3 separate regions of the Homo sapiens genome follow, and regions 1 and 3 are each linked to region 2. The links are contacts of gene promoters, found by promoter capture Hi-C in human tissues and cell types (Jung and others, 2019). All regions are on one chromosome and are shown on one strand. The core of a region is centred on a gene start or on the middle of the fragment in contact, and the rest is flanking DNA. Distances in the headings are between cores, read along the strand shown. Region 1 overlaps C2orf80 (chromosome 2 open reading frame 80). Region 2 holds the start of CRYGB (crystallin gamma B). Region 3 has its middle 30 kb from the start of CRYGD.

Region 1 (2,700 bases), core at 55-2,554, 37 kb after region 2:
TGGTCATTACAGCTAAACCCTAACTGTTACAACTCTCTAGGATCAGGTGTGTAGTCCAGAGCCATTGAGTAGAAAAAAAATAACAGGCCTCCAGAATAAGCTATTTGATCCTGTCCTCATTAGTTCTGTGTTCTTACCAATTGAGTGAGTCTGCCTGAACACTCCCTATACATGACAGAAAATGCTGGTAATCCCAGAAAGAAAATTATTCTGCGCTTCAAACAGCTCAGCTCAGATACATGTCTGCCTAAATGCTTAAGAATTTGTTTGGTAGTCCTTAGGAAAAGGTTACAGTCTTTACCCATAGAACTGACTGTTTTAAATCATGGCATGTACATAGTAAAGCAGTCATGTTTCTAAGACAGAGCATTCTTTATTTTTGAGATGGAGTCTCACTCTGTTGCCCAGGCTGGAGTGAAGTGGCACAATCTTGGCTCACTGCAACCTCTGCCTCCTGGGTTCAAGTGATTCTCCTCTCCTGCCTCAGCCTCCTGAGTACAGGTGTGCGCCACCACGCTAGGCGAATTTTTGTATTTTTAATAGAGGCGAGGTTTTACCATATTGTCCAGGTTGGTCTTGAACTCCTGGCTTCAAGTAATGAGTCTGCCTCAGCCTCCCAGAGTGCTGGGATTACAGGCCTGAGCCACCGCGCCCGGCCCCTTAAGACACAACATTCTGTGCAAGAAAGTCTTTCATCTCACTGAAGTCAATTAGTATAGAGATGCAAAACATGGAAACATGTAACTTCTTCAAGTTGGCAACTGTTCAGGTTCCTCAGGTGTCTCGTTGAAGAGGGATATTCACCCAGTAGTGTTTTCAAATCAAAGTGCCTCATGATGGAAGATGTTAGGGCTGGAACTTCCTCTATCATTAATCATAGGCACAAATTAAAGAGGAAAGCAACAAACCTACTTCAACTTACAGTTCCTCCCACTCCAGCCAAGTTAAGTCTTCTGAGGGATCCAGCCATTGCAAAGCAACACTGATGGCCAAGTCATAGTGTGCCTGGGAGCAGGAAGCACAGAGAGCAAAGAAACAGGCTTAGACATTGGCCGAAGTACTCCCTGGACCCAATGACAATGGGACTGCTAAGCCTATTCTAGTCTGTCATGTCCAAAATGGGAAGGATCATTAGCTTTAATAACCTGATGCTCGGCCAGATTTTTTTTTTTTTTTCTGAGACCTCGCCTCACAGGGATGAATCAGCCAGAAATATTTTGGGATCTTGAGACATTAAATTTATTTCCACTAGAGCAGTTATCTGATTTCTGTGATTTGGAAAAGAAAGGAGAGATCAGTGAAGAATAATAAACTTGGAATCAGAAAATCTGGGCTCAAATCTAGGTATTGCCAACAACTCACGGAATATTCTTAGGTGAGTAACTGATGCTTTCTGGGCCTCAGTTTCCCTAAATTTTAACATAGTAAAAGGTAAGGGTGGGGGAACAGGGCTGCAGGGAACAATTTCTGATTCTGTGAGTAGAATGTCAGAAATGTGCTTCCAGGGGTACAGGGGCAGTGTGGTGGGAATTTGGAGGGATGGGCCGTTTTATGTCTACCTGGGGAGATAGCTAGAATCCCAAGAAGCTTCAGAGAGGGAAGCTGCATTGGAGCTGGGGCTTGTGGGATGAGAATGTCTACAGATGGGGAAGGAAATCACAGGTAGAGGAACTAGCATGAGGCAAGGACGGAGCGGGCGGGGAAGGGGGCAGACCTGAGTAAGTGACTTGCTGAGAGTTTCACACGCACGTATAGTAAAAAGCTGAGAACCAATGCGGAGGCTTATTTTTATCATGGTGACCACCTTTTCCTAGTAATTCCTAAGAGTTCTTGTTCAGTAAGCATATTTACCATTTGTCTATCAAAATATTCCTTCTCTCCTTTCAGTCCCCACACACAGAAAACGGAAGATTGGTTTTGTTTTTAATTTTTGTAGAGGCGTTCTGAAGTTTTAACATTTTTAAACGGTGGAATTATTTCTTCCAGGGACTGAACCAAACTGAACAGTGAACCTAAATGAATAAATAAACAGGAAGAATGGGACCATGACCAAATGTTGCAACCGGATCCAAAGTTTGATGCCTTGGCATCACTTGTTTGGTCATTTGAAATGCAAATTCCTAGGCCGCGGGGGCGCCCCCCTCACCCCCGCCCCCCTTCACCTCCTGAATCAAAACAGCCTTGTAATACGACCTCATTAAAGTTTGAGAAGCACTGCTCTAATCTACTTAATTTCTCTGTTTAATATGTGTACACAGAGAATAAGGCTTAACTATTTCCTTAGCTCCAGGGTAGTTTTGAAAGCCAGTGAGCCTGGCTCTACTTTAGTCGGAGAAGAAGAGGAGAGGGGAGTGGAGGGAGAGAGTCTTTTTTATTAGTGTAAGGATAGTAAATGGGCAGTGAAAAAACTGAGGGTTTGCTAATTTCTTTTGAGTTAGATCTTTATATGGTTTCTTCCTCAATTTCTGTGACGTGAACTTTCAGATCCTGAGTCTGGGCTTCGAAATAAATAACACCAAGGATTTTTAGGGTTACTTAATTTATTTGGTTTTCTCTCACTAATGCAAATGGTAAAGAAATTATTTTGAGAACTACATGATAGCTAATTTTGTCAAACTCTTAACTCCACAGACGTAACATTTTGCCTGGCATTAATTTTGATTTTTAATCTTCTTTCCTAATAGCAAATAACTCTCATGA
Region 2 (2,700 bases), core at 156-2,655:
GCTAATTTTTGTATTTTTAGTAGAGAGGGGGTTTCACCATATTGGCCAGGGTGGTCTTGAACTCCTGACCTCCTGACCTCGGCCTCCCAAAGTGCTGGGATTACAGGCGTGAGCCACCGCACCCAGCCTTCAGTTCAAATTTCAACCTATCTGACTTTTAAGCTTCCTTTCTAGCCTCCTGCTCTCAACTTATTTATTTCCCTCAGCAGCAAGTATCACCTTCATTAACTTCTGTTTTTATGACACTGTATCCCATGCCTCCCACACACCACAATTCTAAGAATTCTGCAGTCACTGCCCAGAAAATATGGAATCTCAAACTTTAGTTTCAGATTTGGCCTTTTCTCTAATTTATACCTCTAAGTGAGCTAATAGGTACTGACCATTAAATTAGAATAGAAATCAGAAGACAGGATCCTATCTTCTCAGGAGGAATAATCAAATAGAAAAGTAAGACAAAGCAAGCAAAAGTTTGTTGTTGTTGTTGTTGTTGTTGTTATTGTCGTTTTGAGATGGAGTCTCACTCTGTCACCAGGCTGGAGTGCAGTGGCACGATCTCGGCTCACTGCAACCTCCATCTCCCGGCTTCAAGCAAGCAATTCTCCTGCCCCAGCCGCCCGAGTAGCTGGGATTTAAGAATAATGTGATTAAATAGGCCGGATGCCGTGGTTCACACCTGTAATCCCAGCACTTTGGGAGGCCGAGGCGGGCGGATCACTTGAGGCCAGGAGTTCGAGATCAGCCTGGGCAACATGGTGCAACCTCGTCTCTACTATGAATACAAAAATTGGCTGGGCATGGTGGTGCATGCCTGTAATCCCAACTACTCAGGAGGCTGAGGCAGGGGAATTGCTTGAACCCGGGAGGCGGAAGTTGCAGTGAGCCGAGATCATGCCACTGCACTCCACCCTGGGGGACAGAGCGAGACTCCGCCTCAAAAAAAAAAAAAAAAAAAAAAAGAATATCATGAAATAGCTTTTATTTCCAAAAAGATGGAAGGCAAAGACAGAGCCACACTCACCGGGGGGATGAGGCAGCAGGAGCGGATGGAGTCGCTGAGGCCCATCCATTGCTGGTAGTCAGGGTACTCCCCACGCCGCAGGAAGTACTGGTGGCCCTGGTAGTTGGGGCGCTCATAGATCATCCAGCAGCCGCTCTCCACCCTGATGGAGTTGCAGCGGCTGAAATAGGGTTGTAGGTTGGGGCAGTCAGTGGTGCATTCGTAGCTGCGGCCCTGGAAGGCCCTGTCCTCGTAGAAGGTGATCTGAAAAATGGAAGATGTGGGAGCATGGAGTGATTGGCCCCCACTGAGGCCACTGCATTAGGGCCAAGGCTGAGCATCCGGTACCCAGGACTTACCTTTCCCATTTTGAAGGAAGTGAGCAGATGTTTTCTGGTTGCTGTGTGGGACTGCGGGAACGTCACTGTATGTATAGCAGCCCTGACTGCTGCCTCCACAGGAAATCACACAAAAGGGCCCATTTTGGTGAGTAAGGGGATTTGCAAGCTCGCTGCTCTCCGTGCCCAGGTCACTGGGGTTGGCTGAATGGTTTACTCTCATTCTTTCTGGTAGGTTCGGGTTGTTCTAATTCACTAAAGCTGTTGTTGCCATCAAAATGAATAGAGTACACTTTTAGTTGAGCAAAAGGATGGGCGAAATTCTGTCTCTGTGCTTTTATTTTATAGTTTACTCTGCTTAATTGACTTCTCAAAAGTCATTAAACTAAGTAATGAATTCTGCTCAGGGACTGGTGGTGTTTTTGTGTGTGTGTGTGTGTGTGTTTTAGTTCTAAAAGCCAGAATTTAAATAGTAAGGAATCTTAAAGAAGAGGGAATCAAGTGAAGTAATCTGTGAAAGTGTGTTAAAACCCATAAAGCTTAGTTCAAATTCAAAATTCTGTGATCAGCCAGGCGAGGTGGTGCACACCTATAATCCCAGGACTTTGGGAGGCTGAGGCAGGTGGATTGCTTGAGCTCAGGAGTTAGAGACCAGCCTAGGTAACATGGTGAGACCCCATCTCTACAACAAATACAAAAATTAGCCCTGCATGGTGGCGCATACCTGTAGTCCCAGCTATTTGGGAGGCTGAGGTGAGAGGATTGCTTAAGCTCAGGAGGTCGAGGTTGCAGTGAGCCATGATTGCACCACTGCACTCCAGCCTGGGCAACAGAGCAAGACCCTGTCGCAAAAAAAAAAAAAAAAAAATTCTGTGATCATCATTGTTGGTGTTTGGGGGCTTGTCTTGAATAAAACTGATACTTGCCTGGAATTTTGTAGGCTTCTGGGGGCTGGGTATTATTTCTTGTTCATGTCTATCCCTGAGCCCTAGAGCAGAGGGTTGGCACATTGCAGGTCCTCAATAATTGGCTCTGACCTGAGCAAAAACAGATAGTTGTGGCTTTCTTCCCCCTTTCAGATCTTCCTAAGGGCCTAAATCCCTCCTTCTGCTGGTGGCTGTCCAGAGTCCTGCCTGCTGTTTGGTGTTCCTGCTCTGCCTCAAATGTTACCACTAAGTGGCTGATTGGTCTTCTCAAGGCATGGGACCAAAAGGGCTCAGAGTTGGTCCCTATTGCTGGCAGATTGGACATTCTACAGTGGAAATAGCTGGATTAGCCTTAATAAGTAGAAGTTAATGCATAGCCTTCATCCATACCACTATGAACGCTCTCTTAGTGAGCTCACTGCCAGCAGTAGGGTGG
Region 3 (2,700 bases), core at 58-2,557, 51 kb before region 2:
AATTTAATTGATCGATTTAAATTAATTAATTAATTAAAAATTATTTTTTAGAAGTGAGGTCTCACTTTTTTGACCAGGTTTGTCTCAAATACCCAGGCTCAATCAATCCTCCCACCTTGACCTCCCAATGTGCTGGTATTACAGGCGTGAGCCATCTAAGTTTCTAAGCCTGAAAAATTTCTAAGTTAAAAACTTGCAAGACTTGAAAAGAAGTGAGAGAAAGAATGAGGCTCATTCGAAAATGCAATTAGCAAATATTCTTGGGAGAAGACTCACTGAATTTCCAGTCCATATTTTCTGGCTTGTTTTCCTTAGGCAGGATAAAAATAATGACAGCTAAGTCCCTCCCTCCCTCCCTCCCTTCCTTCCTTCCTTCCTTCCTTCCTTCCTTTCGCAGGGTCTCGCTCTGTCACCCAGACTGGAGTGCAGTGGTTTCATCATAGCTCACTGCAACCTCCACCCCCTGTGCTCAAGTGATCTTCCTGCCTCAGCCTCCTGAGTAGGTGGGATTACAGGCACTCAACACCATGCCCGGTTAACTTTTTTTTTTTTTTTTTTTGAGACAGAGTCTCGCTCTGTCGCCCAGGCTGGAGTGCAGTGGCGCCATCTCAGCTCACTGCAAGCTCCGCCTCCTGAATTCACGCCATTCTCCTGCCTCAGCCTCCCGAGTAGCTGGGACTACAGGTGCCCGCCACCACACCTGGCTAATTTTTTGTATTTTTAGTAGAGACTGGGTTTCCCCGTTTTAGCCAGGATGGTCTTGATCTGCTGACCTCCTGATCTGCCCACCTTGGCCTCCCAAAGTGCTGGGATTACAGGTGTGAGCCACAGGCCTGGCCGCCCAGTTAACTTTTTTTTTTTTTTTTTTTTTTTTTTTTTTTTTTTTTTTTTTTTTTTGAGGCGGAGTCTCGCTCTGTCGCCCAGGCCGGACTGCGGACTGCAGTGGCGCAATCTCGGCTCACTGCAAGCTCTGCTTCCCGGGTTCACGCCATTCTCCTGCCTCAGCCTCCCGAGTAGCTGGGACTACAGGCGCCCGCCACCGCGCCCGGCTAATTTTTTGTATTTTTAGTAGAGACGGGGTTTCACCTTGTTAGCCAGGATGGTCTCGATCTCCTGACCTCGTGATCCACCCGCCTCGGCCTCCCAAAGTGCTGGGATTACAGGCGTGAGCCACCGCGCCCGGCCCAGTTAACTTTTTAAAGATTGTAGAGATAGAGTCTCAACATGTTGCCCAGGCTGGCCTTGAGCTCCTGCCCTCAAGCAATACTCCTGCTTCGGCATTCCAAAGTTCTAGGATTACAGGTGTGAGCCGCTCTACCCAGCCGGTTTTCTCTTGCTTTTCTTACAACTATGGGTATCAAAACCAGGGATATGAATTGTTGTTTTTAAGATTGCAGTGGGTATTTGTGGTGCTTTGAATCTAAATAAAAACTCAATTCTAACTGATGAAAAGGATAATAATATATTAACTAGACAATAATAAAATATACAATGTAGAATACAATACAATAGATATAACAACAGCCACAGAAACACATAGTGAGCACTTAAAAAATGTATATATTTATTTATTTTTGTAGAGGTGAGGTCTTACTATGTTGCCCAGGTTGGTCTTGAACTCCCAGTCTCAAACAATACTCCTACCTTGCCTCCCAAAGTGCTCAGATTACAGGCATCAGCCAGTGCACCCAGTCTATTGAGTATTTATTATATGCTAGGTCCTGTTCTAAATACTTAACATGCATTTCTTATTTGTCTTTCATAGCAACAATGTCAACCATCTTGTGTAATAAGGCTCAAAGAGGCTGTCTCACTAGCCCCTGGCCTCCTGGTTGGTTAGTGAGAAAAAAAGAATTCAAACGCAGGTTGGCCTGACTCTAGGAATCAATTACCAAACCTTATTGTCTAGATTTAATTTTTTTTAATTTTTATTTATTTATTATTTTTTGAGATGGAGTCTCGCTCTGTCACCCAGGCTGGATTCCAGTGGTGTGATCTCAGCTCACTGCAAACTCTGTCTCCTGGGTTCAAGCAATTCTCCTGCCTCAGCCTCCCAAGTAGCTGGGATTACAGGTGCCTGCCACTGCGCCCGGCTAATTTTTTTGTATTTTAGTAGAGATGGGGTTTCATCATGTTGGCCAGGCTGGTTTTGAACTCCTGACCTCAAGTGATCCACCCACCTCGGCCTCCCAAAGTGCTGGGATTACAAGCATGAGCCAGCGCGTCCGGCCCTGTTTGGAATTTAAATCCCTCCTGTATTCCTAATTGTACAGAAATTTAACTGAGGATGTTTTGCTTGTCCTGTGTGGTGATTTAAAGATGTTTAAGCAACATTAAAAATCAGTGTTGGGGTAGGTAATTGCCATTGAATGCACAGTTTTAGGTTTTCGCAAAAAGTGAGAAGATCTGGCTACCCTAAGCTCTTATTTCTCCAAAATGGGAGGCACAGGCTATGTCCAGCTGACCCCTATCAAGGAGCAGATACACTTGGAGTTGGCCCTGCTCTCTGCTAACACTCTTGTGGCTTCCTGGATTTCTTGCTTCCATCCTTCCTCTCATTTGTCAGTTCTTTGTCTTTAAGGAAACAGGCCCGATTGCATCAAGCCTGCTGAAAGGCTTCAGTGGTCCTCTATTACCTGAAAGTACTTAAAACCCTGATCTACCCACTTTCTAGTCTTCGCTGCCCTTCACCTCTATCCG

Evidence for each region. Contacts are between HindIII fragments. The study calls those that stand out against the background at their distance.
Region 1: a fragment that was not itself captured here is called in contact with the fragment with the promoter of CRYGB in region 2 in 1 of the 25 tissues and cell types used here (H1 embryonic stem cells).
Region 3: a fragment that was not itself captured here is called in contact with the fragment with the promoter of CRYGB in region 2 in 1 of the 25 tissues and cell types used here (heart right ventricle).

Annotation. Positions count from the first base shown.
Region 1 is chr2:208,182,043-208,184,742 of GRCh38, forward strand. C2orf80 (chromosome 2 open reading frame 80) reads right to left here. Exons shown (of 9, transcript NM_001099334.3): 4 at 923-1,005. Among named protein-coding and RNA genes, the nearest start is that of C2orf80, 6.6 kb to the right of the region's middle. The HindIII fragment of the contact is 7,429 bases long and covers 1-2,700 here.
Region 2 is chr2:208,144,753-208,147,452 of GRCh38, forward strand. CRYGB (crystallin gamma B) reads right to left here and starts at 1,406. Exons shown (of 3, transcript NM_005210.4): 1 at 1,360-1,406; 2 at 1,022-1,264. The coding sequence starts at 1,368. The region is part of intron 2 of LOC100507443 (a long non-coding RNA gene); the gene reads left to right. RefSeq lists an enhancer at 598-1,221. The HindIII fragment of the contact is 6,166 bases long and covers 1-2,700 here.
Region 3 is chr2:208,093,545-208,096,244 of GRCh38, forward strand. No RefSeq gene overlaps it. Among named protein-coding and RNA genes, the nearest start is that of CRYGD, 30 kb to the right of the region's middle. The HindIII fragment of the contact is 6,448 bases long and covers 1-2,700 here.